Linked DNA regions of Homo sapiens: region 1 is linked to region 2. The links are contacts of gene promoters, found by promoter capture Hi-C in blood cells and fetal thymus (Javierre and others, 2016). All regions are on one chromosome and are shown on one strand. The core of a region is centred on a gene start or on the middle of the fragment in contact, and the rest is flanking DNA. Distances in the headings are between cores, read along the strand shown.

Region 1 (4,581 bases), core at 941-3,440, 4.6 Mb before region 2:
CTAAGTGCTGTATTACTTCACAAAATACTATGGCATTTATAAAAAACCACTTGGCTTAATGTAGTTATGACTATCACACACAAAGATACACATAAAACTTACAAAGAAATGTCATCAGAACATTTTAATATTAATTCAGATGATATTATAGCCCTGAAGTTGCAAAACTGAGGCCTGGTCATGTTAAGATACAATCAGGAGACACACTTGAATACCTGGTAACAAAAAATGACTCTGACTTCTTTGTATATTTGAGTCCTACCCACACTTTTAAGACCAGCCTAAAGTTAACTTTCCTTATCTGTCCTACTGCTTGTGGGATCTATAACTACACATTCTGGAACACATACACAGTTTTAATGTTATTCAACTGTTTTGTGCTGCTAGTCTTATCACCTCATTGAATTAAACACAAGTTCCAAGAGGGCAAAAACTGTATGTCCCTACAGCATTACAACAGGGCTAGGATTCCAGATGTTTTCATTGACTTTATCTGTACCACTTCTTGCTCTGCAGAACAACTTACTCAGATGTTCATTAAATAACATTTCTTGATTTCTAGGAAAGGTTGATACAGGGGGCTAAGAAGGCAAAAAAGTACTAGGGGGACATTTTAAAAGCTTATTATATTGTAGAGCAGACAATTCTTTAGTCAAGAAAAATATTGTGTAGTATGTAAATGCTTTGGCAGTTACCCCAGCTTTGAAGATCTTGAAGAGCTATGCATGGATTGTCTCCAGTTCTTTTTTGTATCTAAGCAGGCTTTACCTAATGACAGTGGTTCCTCACATAAGTTCCAGTGAACTTCAGGATTCCATGAGGCTGCTCTAAGACTTGACTGATAGATGGATGGCCATGATCGCCGTGTTTAATCTGAGGTTGTTCCTGCCCAGGTACCAACTGAGGTCGTTAGGCTTCAGGTATAAATGGAAAGCCTTCCTATTAATCAAGGAGAGGTTTTCCATCACCGGAGAACACTCTGATGTCCTCAGGAATGACACACAGGTGCCTGTACACAGTTTTGCCCCTAGTCTCAGGACCATTGGCTAGCTTATGCATGGGGGTTCCCTGCCTTCCAGGGAAATAAAACTGTAGCTGTAATTTTACTGTTATTTTAGTTTTTTTTTTTTTTCCTTCCGTCTCCTTGAGAGAGGCAGACAGGGGAAGTAAGAATAATGGTTTCAGCAGCTCTGGCCCTTGAATAAACAGCAAGGAAGGGTTCCATCGTCAGGGTCCATTATACATAAAGTGTGCACACCTAACCTACTGTTTATGTAAACAATGGTTATAATTCCCAGGAAAAAAAGATGGCCTCCAGCTCACTTACTCTGTAACCCGTATCTTGATGATTAGTTCCTTTGTCTCTACTAGAATTTCCAATCCATCATTAACCCTCAGTCAAAATGCTGAAAATGGTGACATCACTTAATATCCTAATTCTAGTAAAACAGGGCTAGAAAATACCTTCATAAAATTAAGTTTAAATAATAAATCTCAAGTATTAGTGCTCTTAATATGCCATCTGTCTTCTTAAACTGGGAGTACCTTTGGATTTCCTTAATTCCTCTTGACCCACCCTTTCGTAAGTGAGTACGAAATGGGTGAGAATAAGACTTTGGCATCTATAGCATCTGATTAAATCTTTACTAGTAGTTATTGGTTGGTGAGATGCAGGACAATTTATGTCTTTAAGTCCCAGCTGAATGGGGGTAACACCGCTCAAGCTGTTTTCAGGATTAAATGAGATAATGCAAGTCAAATTCTGCACAGCGTGAGGGACACAGTATGTGCACAACAAACTCTAAGACTTTTAAACACTTTCAATTATTTTTAAAAAGTGGGGTAGGAGACAAGTTTCTACCCAATTTTTAGTAATAACATATAAGAAGGGGAAAGCTTTTGAATTTTTAAAACTTCAGTATTTTAAAATAATGCAGTCACTCTCACACACAAATTAGTCCATGGTCTTTGATAAAGCAAGACATTAGGTGTAATTTTGCTTCAAATTTAATACCCACACTCGTTGACACTGTTGGAAACACTGAGGCTGGCGGTGGGAGGGTGCAAAGCACTTGCTTAGGAACCAGCTGAGAAATCCTCACTGATTTCTCAGGGAGGAGGAAACCTTTCCCTTCCCTCCCCGGGACAAGTCGAAGCCCCACCCCGAGGGAGATTTGTGTCCCTGAATGTAGTAGTTGGTGTCCGGGGCCTGCGCAGAAGAGGACAGTCCGCAAGGGGCGGAAGACAAGACAAAAATGACTCCAGTTCGCTAGACGCGCAGAGGGGCGGATAGCGCGCGGACCCCGCCTTCCCCAACCGAGTGTGGGTTCCAGTCGCTGGGGAGGACCTGGTGGCCCCCTGACCTTGGACGAGCCATATTGGACGCCCCGGCGCCGTCCCGTCTTCCACGCTGCCAACTCCACCGCTCCCGCCCCGAACTGCGGGTAGGTCCAGGCCGCCAGGCCCCGCCTCGCCGGCCCCAGCCCTGATTGACACTGGAGTTGGTACATACGGGTCTGCAGCGGAGGCGAGCAGGAGGGTGAGCGCTATTTTAAACATGGCTTTCTCTTTCCCTTAGCCTAGGAGCCACCGCAGCGCACCCAGCCCGCGAGTACAGCCGCATGGGAATAATCCCAACATTTGCCTGATTTATTTTCTTCCCTCTCCTTACGCTTGTACTTGTTTTTCTCCTCTCGCTGTTTTCCCTTCACACTAATTCGCAACCTGGCAGTTTGCAAAGAGGAAACTCCCTTTCGGAATGGAAAGCCGCTTTTGCTTCTTGTTGTTGGGGGTGGAAAACATTCCAGCGAGAATGAGTTCAAAAAGAAGGGAAACCGCGTCACTGGAGAGAAAGTAACATTAAGAGATCGATGAGGACGGAGTGGGTAGGGGGGACAGAGAGAGGAACGTCTGCAACAGGCATCTAAAAACAAGCGTGGAGGAGCAAAGATTCCCAATCCCCGGGTTACTACCGCGCGCGTTCTGCGCGAGCCATTGCAATGCCAGCATTTACTGTAAGCAGAATTTGAAGGCTTTTGAAATCTTTTTTTGGTAAGACTTACCTTTCTCTTCGGCATAATGACTATGTCGGTGAAGCAAAAAGTAAAGCAACGGACTGGAACTGCTGGCGCCGCCGCTGGATGCTGCCTCTGCCTCTGCAGCTGCTCACGCGCAGGGCACGACGTAGCCCGGCCTCTTCGACCTGCACCTCCGCGGCTCCCTCTGGGGGCCCTCTGCTCGCCTCCCTGCTGCTCCAATGAGGAGCCCCGCCAGCCGGCCGCGAGGCCCCATTGGCTGAGGCAACGTTCTAAATTCCACGAGGGCACGCCCACCTCCGCGCGCGGTACGCGCTGTTGTAGTTTCCACTTCACCGAAAAAAATCTGCCTGGCGACTGAGCATGCCCAGTTCAACTAGTAGCCTCCAGGCCACACAATCCTGAAGTTTCATTGTTTCGCTGCTCTCTCTTTGAGATTGTAAGAATAAGAACAGTGTGTGTCTTCATAGGAAGGAAAAAGAGTAAGAATGAATACGTAAACTTTATAATGTAAATATATACACAGCAGGTACCTTATTCATTTCCTACCCATAAAGGCTTTTAATGAATGTTACATGGTGGGAATCTGTAAAGCGTGGGAAGGTACTCTGTACTGGAAGAGCGTGGCAACTTCTAAAGGCCTCAGTTTCCCCCCCTAGATATATAGTGACAACAGTCCCTAAAATCACTTAGCTCTAATTTTCTGAAATCTGTGATTATAAATCACTCACTAATTCAGCTAACTTCAAACTAGATGTGAAGACGAATAGGACATGTTTGTTACGGAAATTAGGAAAAGAAAGAACAAGGCAAAAACTGATTATTTTATATTTGAGACATATATTTGAATGACACCCGTCATGTTACACTTTATGCGTAATATTTCTCAAAGTTCTGCAAGGCATAAAATGAGCATTGCAAAAATATTTCTGAATTCATTTTATGAGACCAGATTTACTCTGATACCAAAACCAGTGAAAGACTTCAAAAGAGAGTTACAGACCAATATCACTCATAAACATAGACACAAAAGTCGTGAACAAAATTTTAGTAAATGAAACTCAACAACATTTAAAGGGACAATACATCATGACCTGTGGGGCTTATCTTGGGAATGCAAAGCTGCTTTTTTAATATCTGAGAATCAATCAATGTAATTGGCAGGATTAATAGAATAAAGGGGGAAAAACAATCCTTTCAGCAGATGCAGGAAAAGCGCTAGTGAATGGGTAAGCAAATTGTGATGAGCACATGCAGTGGAATACTATTCAGCAATAAAAAACAATAAAAAATTTTCCTACATGGATGAATATCAAAAACAAAGTGCTGTACGAAAGAAGTCAAATACAAAAGACCACACTGAATGATTGCATTCATATGAAATTATAGAAAAAGCAAAATTGGGCAAAGTTAGTTTCAGAATCATCTTAGCAGGCAAAGCTCACATCATAGGAAAATGTGTTGAAGCCTTACATTACAAATATGGCCAAATCCACTTTGGTAACACAGAGGCTGCAAATATGTATTAAAAATATCATGTATTAAA
Region 2 (4,680 bases), core at 538-3,037:
TCTTAGGGCTTTTAAATTATAGATATTTTAAATAAATGATGAGCAAAGTAACTCATATTTTAATACTCCTCTTCAGTCCTTAAATCCAGTAGTAAAATAGTATGGATGTTTAATACTTAATGTACTACATTGAGGGATCCCTAGAATTAAAACAAAACGTTTAAATTTGAGTGATTGATATGGAGTCTAAAAAAGTGGAGTCTAAAGGCCAGAAGTTGATAGCATCTTCCATTTCTGTACAAAGGGGAGCTAAGAAATTTGGAAAGCATGGAACATTCTTCAACAATATTAACTTTTCCTTGCTCTGGTTCTCTGCTTTTGATATTCTTATGTAAAAGTTTTCTCACGAGAAGTGAAATAAATCTCAGTGATTAGTTTTTCTTGTGTAGACTCTAGAAGAATATGTCATCATTTAATGAGAGAGAACACAGAAGCAATTTGCAAAGTCAAAGTAATACAGTTAATTATAGTCATGAGGTTCTTTTAGCTCAAATTCAGTCTTCTCATAATAAGCATTTCAATTGCAAATAAAAATGGATAGAGGTGAATGTCATAGGTGGCTACCTTATTTGAATGCTTGTATTTGAATGGCCACATATAGTCACACACTTTTTCTTCTGATTCTGCAAACATAACCTTGATTTTTTAGGCACTTTAAGAACTAAGTAGTTAAACAGAGAAAGTTTAAAGCATGACAATATGTTCAGAGTTAGGAAAAATTAGTAATTAAAGGAGGATGGGGAGGATTATTTAGAACTATGTTTCTTCTCCTGAAAACTTTCTCCCTTATTGGATTCTACTCTCAAGATCTATGTGTTCCCCAAGGGACACACAAAACAATCAATCAAACAAACAAAAACCATCAGATTTTGAGCATTAGAGCCTGGTGTTTACCTGCACAGTGTTGGTCCTTTTCCCATTAATATGTTGGAATAGCACAAACAGCCACTGCCACTTATTCAGTACCTAATATTAATCAGGCACTGCAGTATGTAGTTTACACATGATCCTTTAATCTTTAATAAACCCATTATGCAGATGGGGAAAATGAGACTTTGAGATACTAAAGTAACTTGCATAAGACAGCTCAGTCATTAAGTGCAGGGATGGCATGCAAACCAAATCTGACTTTTAAACGTTACTTCATCACCACAGCTGGAGGTGAGCTGCATCAGTACACAATTCCCAGTGAAGACAGGAAGTTACATAAGGAGGGAGAATTTGTGAGTGGGTGAATAGAGCAGAAGGTGACTTTACTAACGTCTTTCGCGCATTCATTAGCCCTCAGCATGCTTAAAGGTGAAGTTTAAGGATGATTAAAGGTGAGGTTTTCTTCTTACCCCACAGTAGTGGCTGTTGACATTTGATATTTTTGCTCTTAAAGGTGTGAGATGCTCTTTGCATTACAGCCTAGTGCCTTACAGGAAAGAATTTCAGAGAAACTAAAATTCGTTTTAGTCCATATTTCAAGTAGTGTGTTTTAGTCCATATTTCAAGTAGTGTGATGGTACTGCTTAACAATGAACAGACATTGCTGTTCCGGGTTAACAGGACTAAGAATTTGTTCCCACATTCGGTCAGCACCAAGGCTAAGGAACAGCTTCACTCTCTAATCTTTCCACGAAATAGCTGTCACCTTGCTCCGGTGCTGAAGTTCGGGATGCGGAACTAGCTGAGCATGCGTACTTCCTCCCTGCCGGCCCTCCCTCCGTCCCGTTGGCTCCGCCCTCCGCGGACGTGCTGCGTCAGAATGCGCCTCACCCCTGGCGACCCCGGAAGTGGGTCGGGGGCTTGGCCTCTGCCCGGCCACAGAGCCGGAGCTGGAGGTGCTGTCCCGTCTGGCGGCGATCCCCGGGCAGGGCCCGGGGCCGGGGTTTGAAGATGCTGAACGTCCCTTCCCAGTCTTTCCCGGCCCCCAGGTCGCAGCAGCGTGTCGCCTCCGGGGGGCGTAGCAAGGTAAGCGGGTGGCTCCGTGAGTCTCTCCCCTCGCTGCGTTTCGAGCTCTGGCAGTGTGTTCTCTTCTTCCGCCCCAACTCCCAGCTCCTGCACCCCTCTCTAAGCTGTCGTTCCCTGCTGTCCTTGCCTGCAACCTCTTTCTGATCCCACTTTGTCTACAGTCCCTAAACTCTCCTTACCTCCTCCCTTTCCCCTAGCAGTCCCTCTTCTTTCTGGTCCTTTATCCCGCTCTATCCGTTCCCTTCCTCCAAGTCCTTTCCCGCGATTTAAATTTATATGACAGAGCCAGGCACTGTGTTTGCGGTATTATAGGCTCTCGGTATTAGCCGCCTTCCCTCAACCTCATCTTCTCCCTGGTCTTTTGTTCTTCACTGCCTGAAGGAGTTGTACCACATCACTCGATGTGGGTTCCCTCGCAGGAGGGAAAGGCTTGGCAGTGGCGACAGTGACCGTCCGTGCAAGGATGGGGACTTCTGGAGTTGGGGAGCTAGGTCAGGTTTACAGACACTATCCAAGACATACTGCCTTTCTTTCTTCCTCTGGTACCTGATTGTTTTGTCATTGCCTTTTCTACTAGTATCACTTGCTAACTTCGAAGCAAATATAATAATACTCTTGAGTTCTTGTTGAGCACAGTTGCTGTTAGCAACAGGTGGAATACTGTACAGATATATTTTATATTTGCAGAATTCAATAAAAATTGTGTTCTTTGTTCTTTTGCGAATGTTGTTTGTTCCTATTTGTTAGTTCCTCATTCTGTAACCATATCTTTATCTTTCGTTTGTGACACTTCCACTTAACTTGGGCCACTCGGTTAACTCTTGAGTCTTAGCATCGTTTGGAACCCTTATCGATTTTCTTATTTTTCTCCACTTAGACCTGGCGTTCTGATTCTAGTTCAGAATGAATATAGGTTCAGGGATCTGTGGTTTTCATTAGCTTTCCAGAGATTTCTTAAGTACTTACGGGTGGCCGTGTATATTCTCAGTGCTTTGCATGTATTAACTTTAATTTTCACAATTATCCTTTGAAGTGAAAGCTTTTATTGTCTCTATTTCGCAGAAAAGGAAACTGGCTAAGAAATATTGCCCTAAATTGCGTAGGCTTGTGTTGTGGTTCTGCTGTGAAATTTCATTTACTGATTCATATATCAATCATCTAGCCATCCAATCATGTATATTTTTCTCATTGGTTTTTGACCTATTTCTTGAAGCTAAATACTTGACTGAATAACAGTCTTTCCAGAAAGAATCTCTGAATTAGAATATGAGTTACTGCCCTTCTTCGTTAAAAATACCAACTGTGTTCTTAGCATCCATTTAAAGGAGAAAACTTAGAAGCAAAGACAAAAAGTCACACAGGGGGCGATGGCAAAGGTGAGTTTTTGGTCCAAAAAGAGAACAAAATAAGATTATTGTGCAATTCTAAGGAAAAGTCAGACTCCAGTCTTCTTCCTCTTTTCTTTGTGAAACAAGATGATGCTGAGAATGTAAAAACTGAGTCAGGTTTGGATGAAATGGGTAGAGGTTGAGAAAATAGAACCAAGTTGGGAAGGTCGTGTATTATACAAAAGGTTCTCAAATAGTGTTGTTTCATTCAACAGCATTTAGTTATAATATTGATGAGAAAAAAAATTCGTTTTGGCCAGGGCCACTGTCTTTGGAGTTTGCATGCTCTGTGTCTGCGTGGGTTTTCTCTGGGTACTCTGGTTTCCTGCTACAGCCCAAAGATATGCAAGTTAGGTTAATTGGTGTGTCTAAATGGTCCCAGTCTGTGTGAATATTGGGTGTGTATGAGTGTGCCTTGCCATAGGATGGCATCCTGTCCAAGGTCGGTTCCTGCCTTGTGCCCTGAGCTACTGGGATAGGCTCTGACTACCTGTGACATTGAACTGGAATAGTTGGGTAAATAATTATCTTACTTGTTTTTTAATTAATCTTTCTTAAATGTATATATAGCTAACATTTCTTTCAGTGTTTAATATTAGAAGTATTTTGGTCTTTATTTAGAAGTCTGGTGATGTTTTTGTGACCAGAAATATGCTGCAGGAAATTTTGTTTGTCAATTAACCCACGGTAAAATTAGTTTCGTTGTACATAGTTTAGTTTCCAAGCACCTAGTGACTAGCTTAAGTGAAGGCTTATTGTAATTTTTTAAAGGCACAGATTTTGAAGTGAGAAAGACCTAGATTCTTTCACCATATCTGCCAGTTAATCTCTTTGAGTCTGTTTCCTCAGATGTAAATGAGAATAACAGTACCCATTTTATAGGATTGTTCATAGGATTCAATGAGATAATGTTTCTCTTAGCACAGCCTTGGTAAGCACCCAGTAAATGCTACTTGTCCTGAGGCTTTTATTCAGATCTCACAGACTTGAGTGTGACACAGAATATGCACTCAACATATGATAGTTATTATTTCTATTAATACTGGTAAACAAATACTTATTGAGAACCTACCATATGCTGGAGTTTTTGGTCTCTGATTTCAAGGTGTTTAGTCTCATAGGTTGCATGAAATAGTGAACATTCAGTTATAAAGTCATAAGTACTACAACAGGGTGGTATGACCACTAAGGAGTTGAGGATCAGAGAAGCCTTCCAGAGGAATTAATGGGAGTTGGAGTGAGGTTGATCCATGCAGGGAAAGCAACACTACTATAAGCAAGTACTTGACAGCAATAAAGGAATCAAATAATCAGTTCCCATTTGGCTAAAGTATAT

What was found. The method cuts DNA at HindIII sites, captures the fragments that hold promoters and counts their contacts. A CHiCAGO score of 5 or more calls a contact.
Region 1: a contact is called between the fragment with the promoter of HMGN3-AS1 here and the fragment with the promoter of CYB5R4 in region 2, in 1 of 17 cell types (fetal thymus). The highest score is 7.8, in fetal thymus.

What each region holds. Positions count from the first base shown.
Region 1 is chr6:79,231,484-79,236,064 of GRCh38, forward strand. It overlaps HMGN3-AS1 (HMGN3 antisense RNA 1), which reads left to right and starts at 2,191. Exons shown (of 2, transcript NR_040671.1): 1 at 2,191-2,444; 2 at 2,579-4,581. It overlaps HMGN3 (high mobility group nucleosomal binding domain 3), which reads right to left and starts at 3,199. Exons shown (of 7, transcript NM_001201363.2): 1 at 3,063-3,199. The coding sequence starts at 3,077. RefSeq lists enhancers at 1,737-2,527, 2,528-3,317 and a silencer at 2,475-2,524. The HindIII fragment of the contact is 3,424 bases long and covers 1,895-4,581 here.
Region 2 is chr6:83,857,902-83,862,581 of GRCh38, forward strand. CYB5R4 (cytochrome b5 reductase 4) reads left to right here and starts at 1,788. Exons shown (of 16, transcript NM_016230.4): 1 at 1,788-1,956. The coding sequence starts at 1,882. The region is part of intron 3 of RIPPLY2-CYB5R4 (RIPPLY2-CYB5R4 readthrough); the gene reads left to right. RefSeq lists a silencer at 1,859-1,908. The HindIII fragment of the contact is 3,476 bases long and covers 1-2,993 here.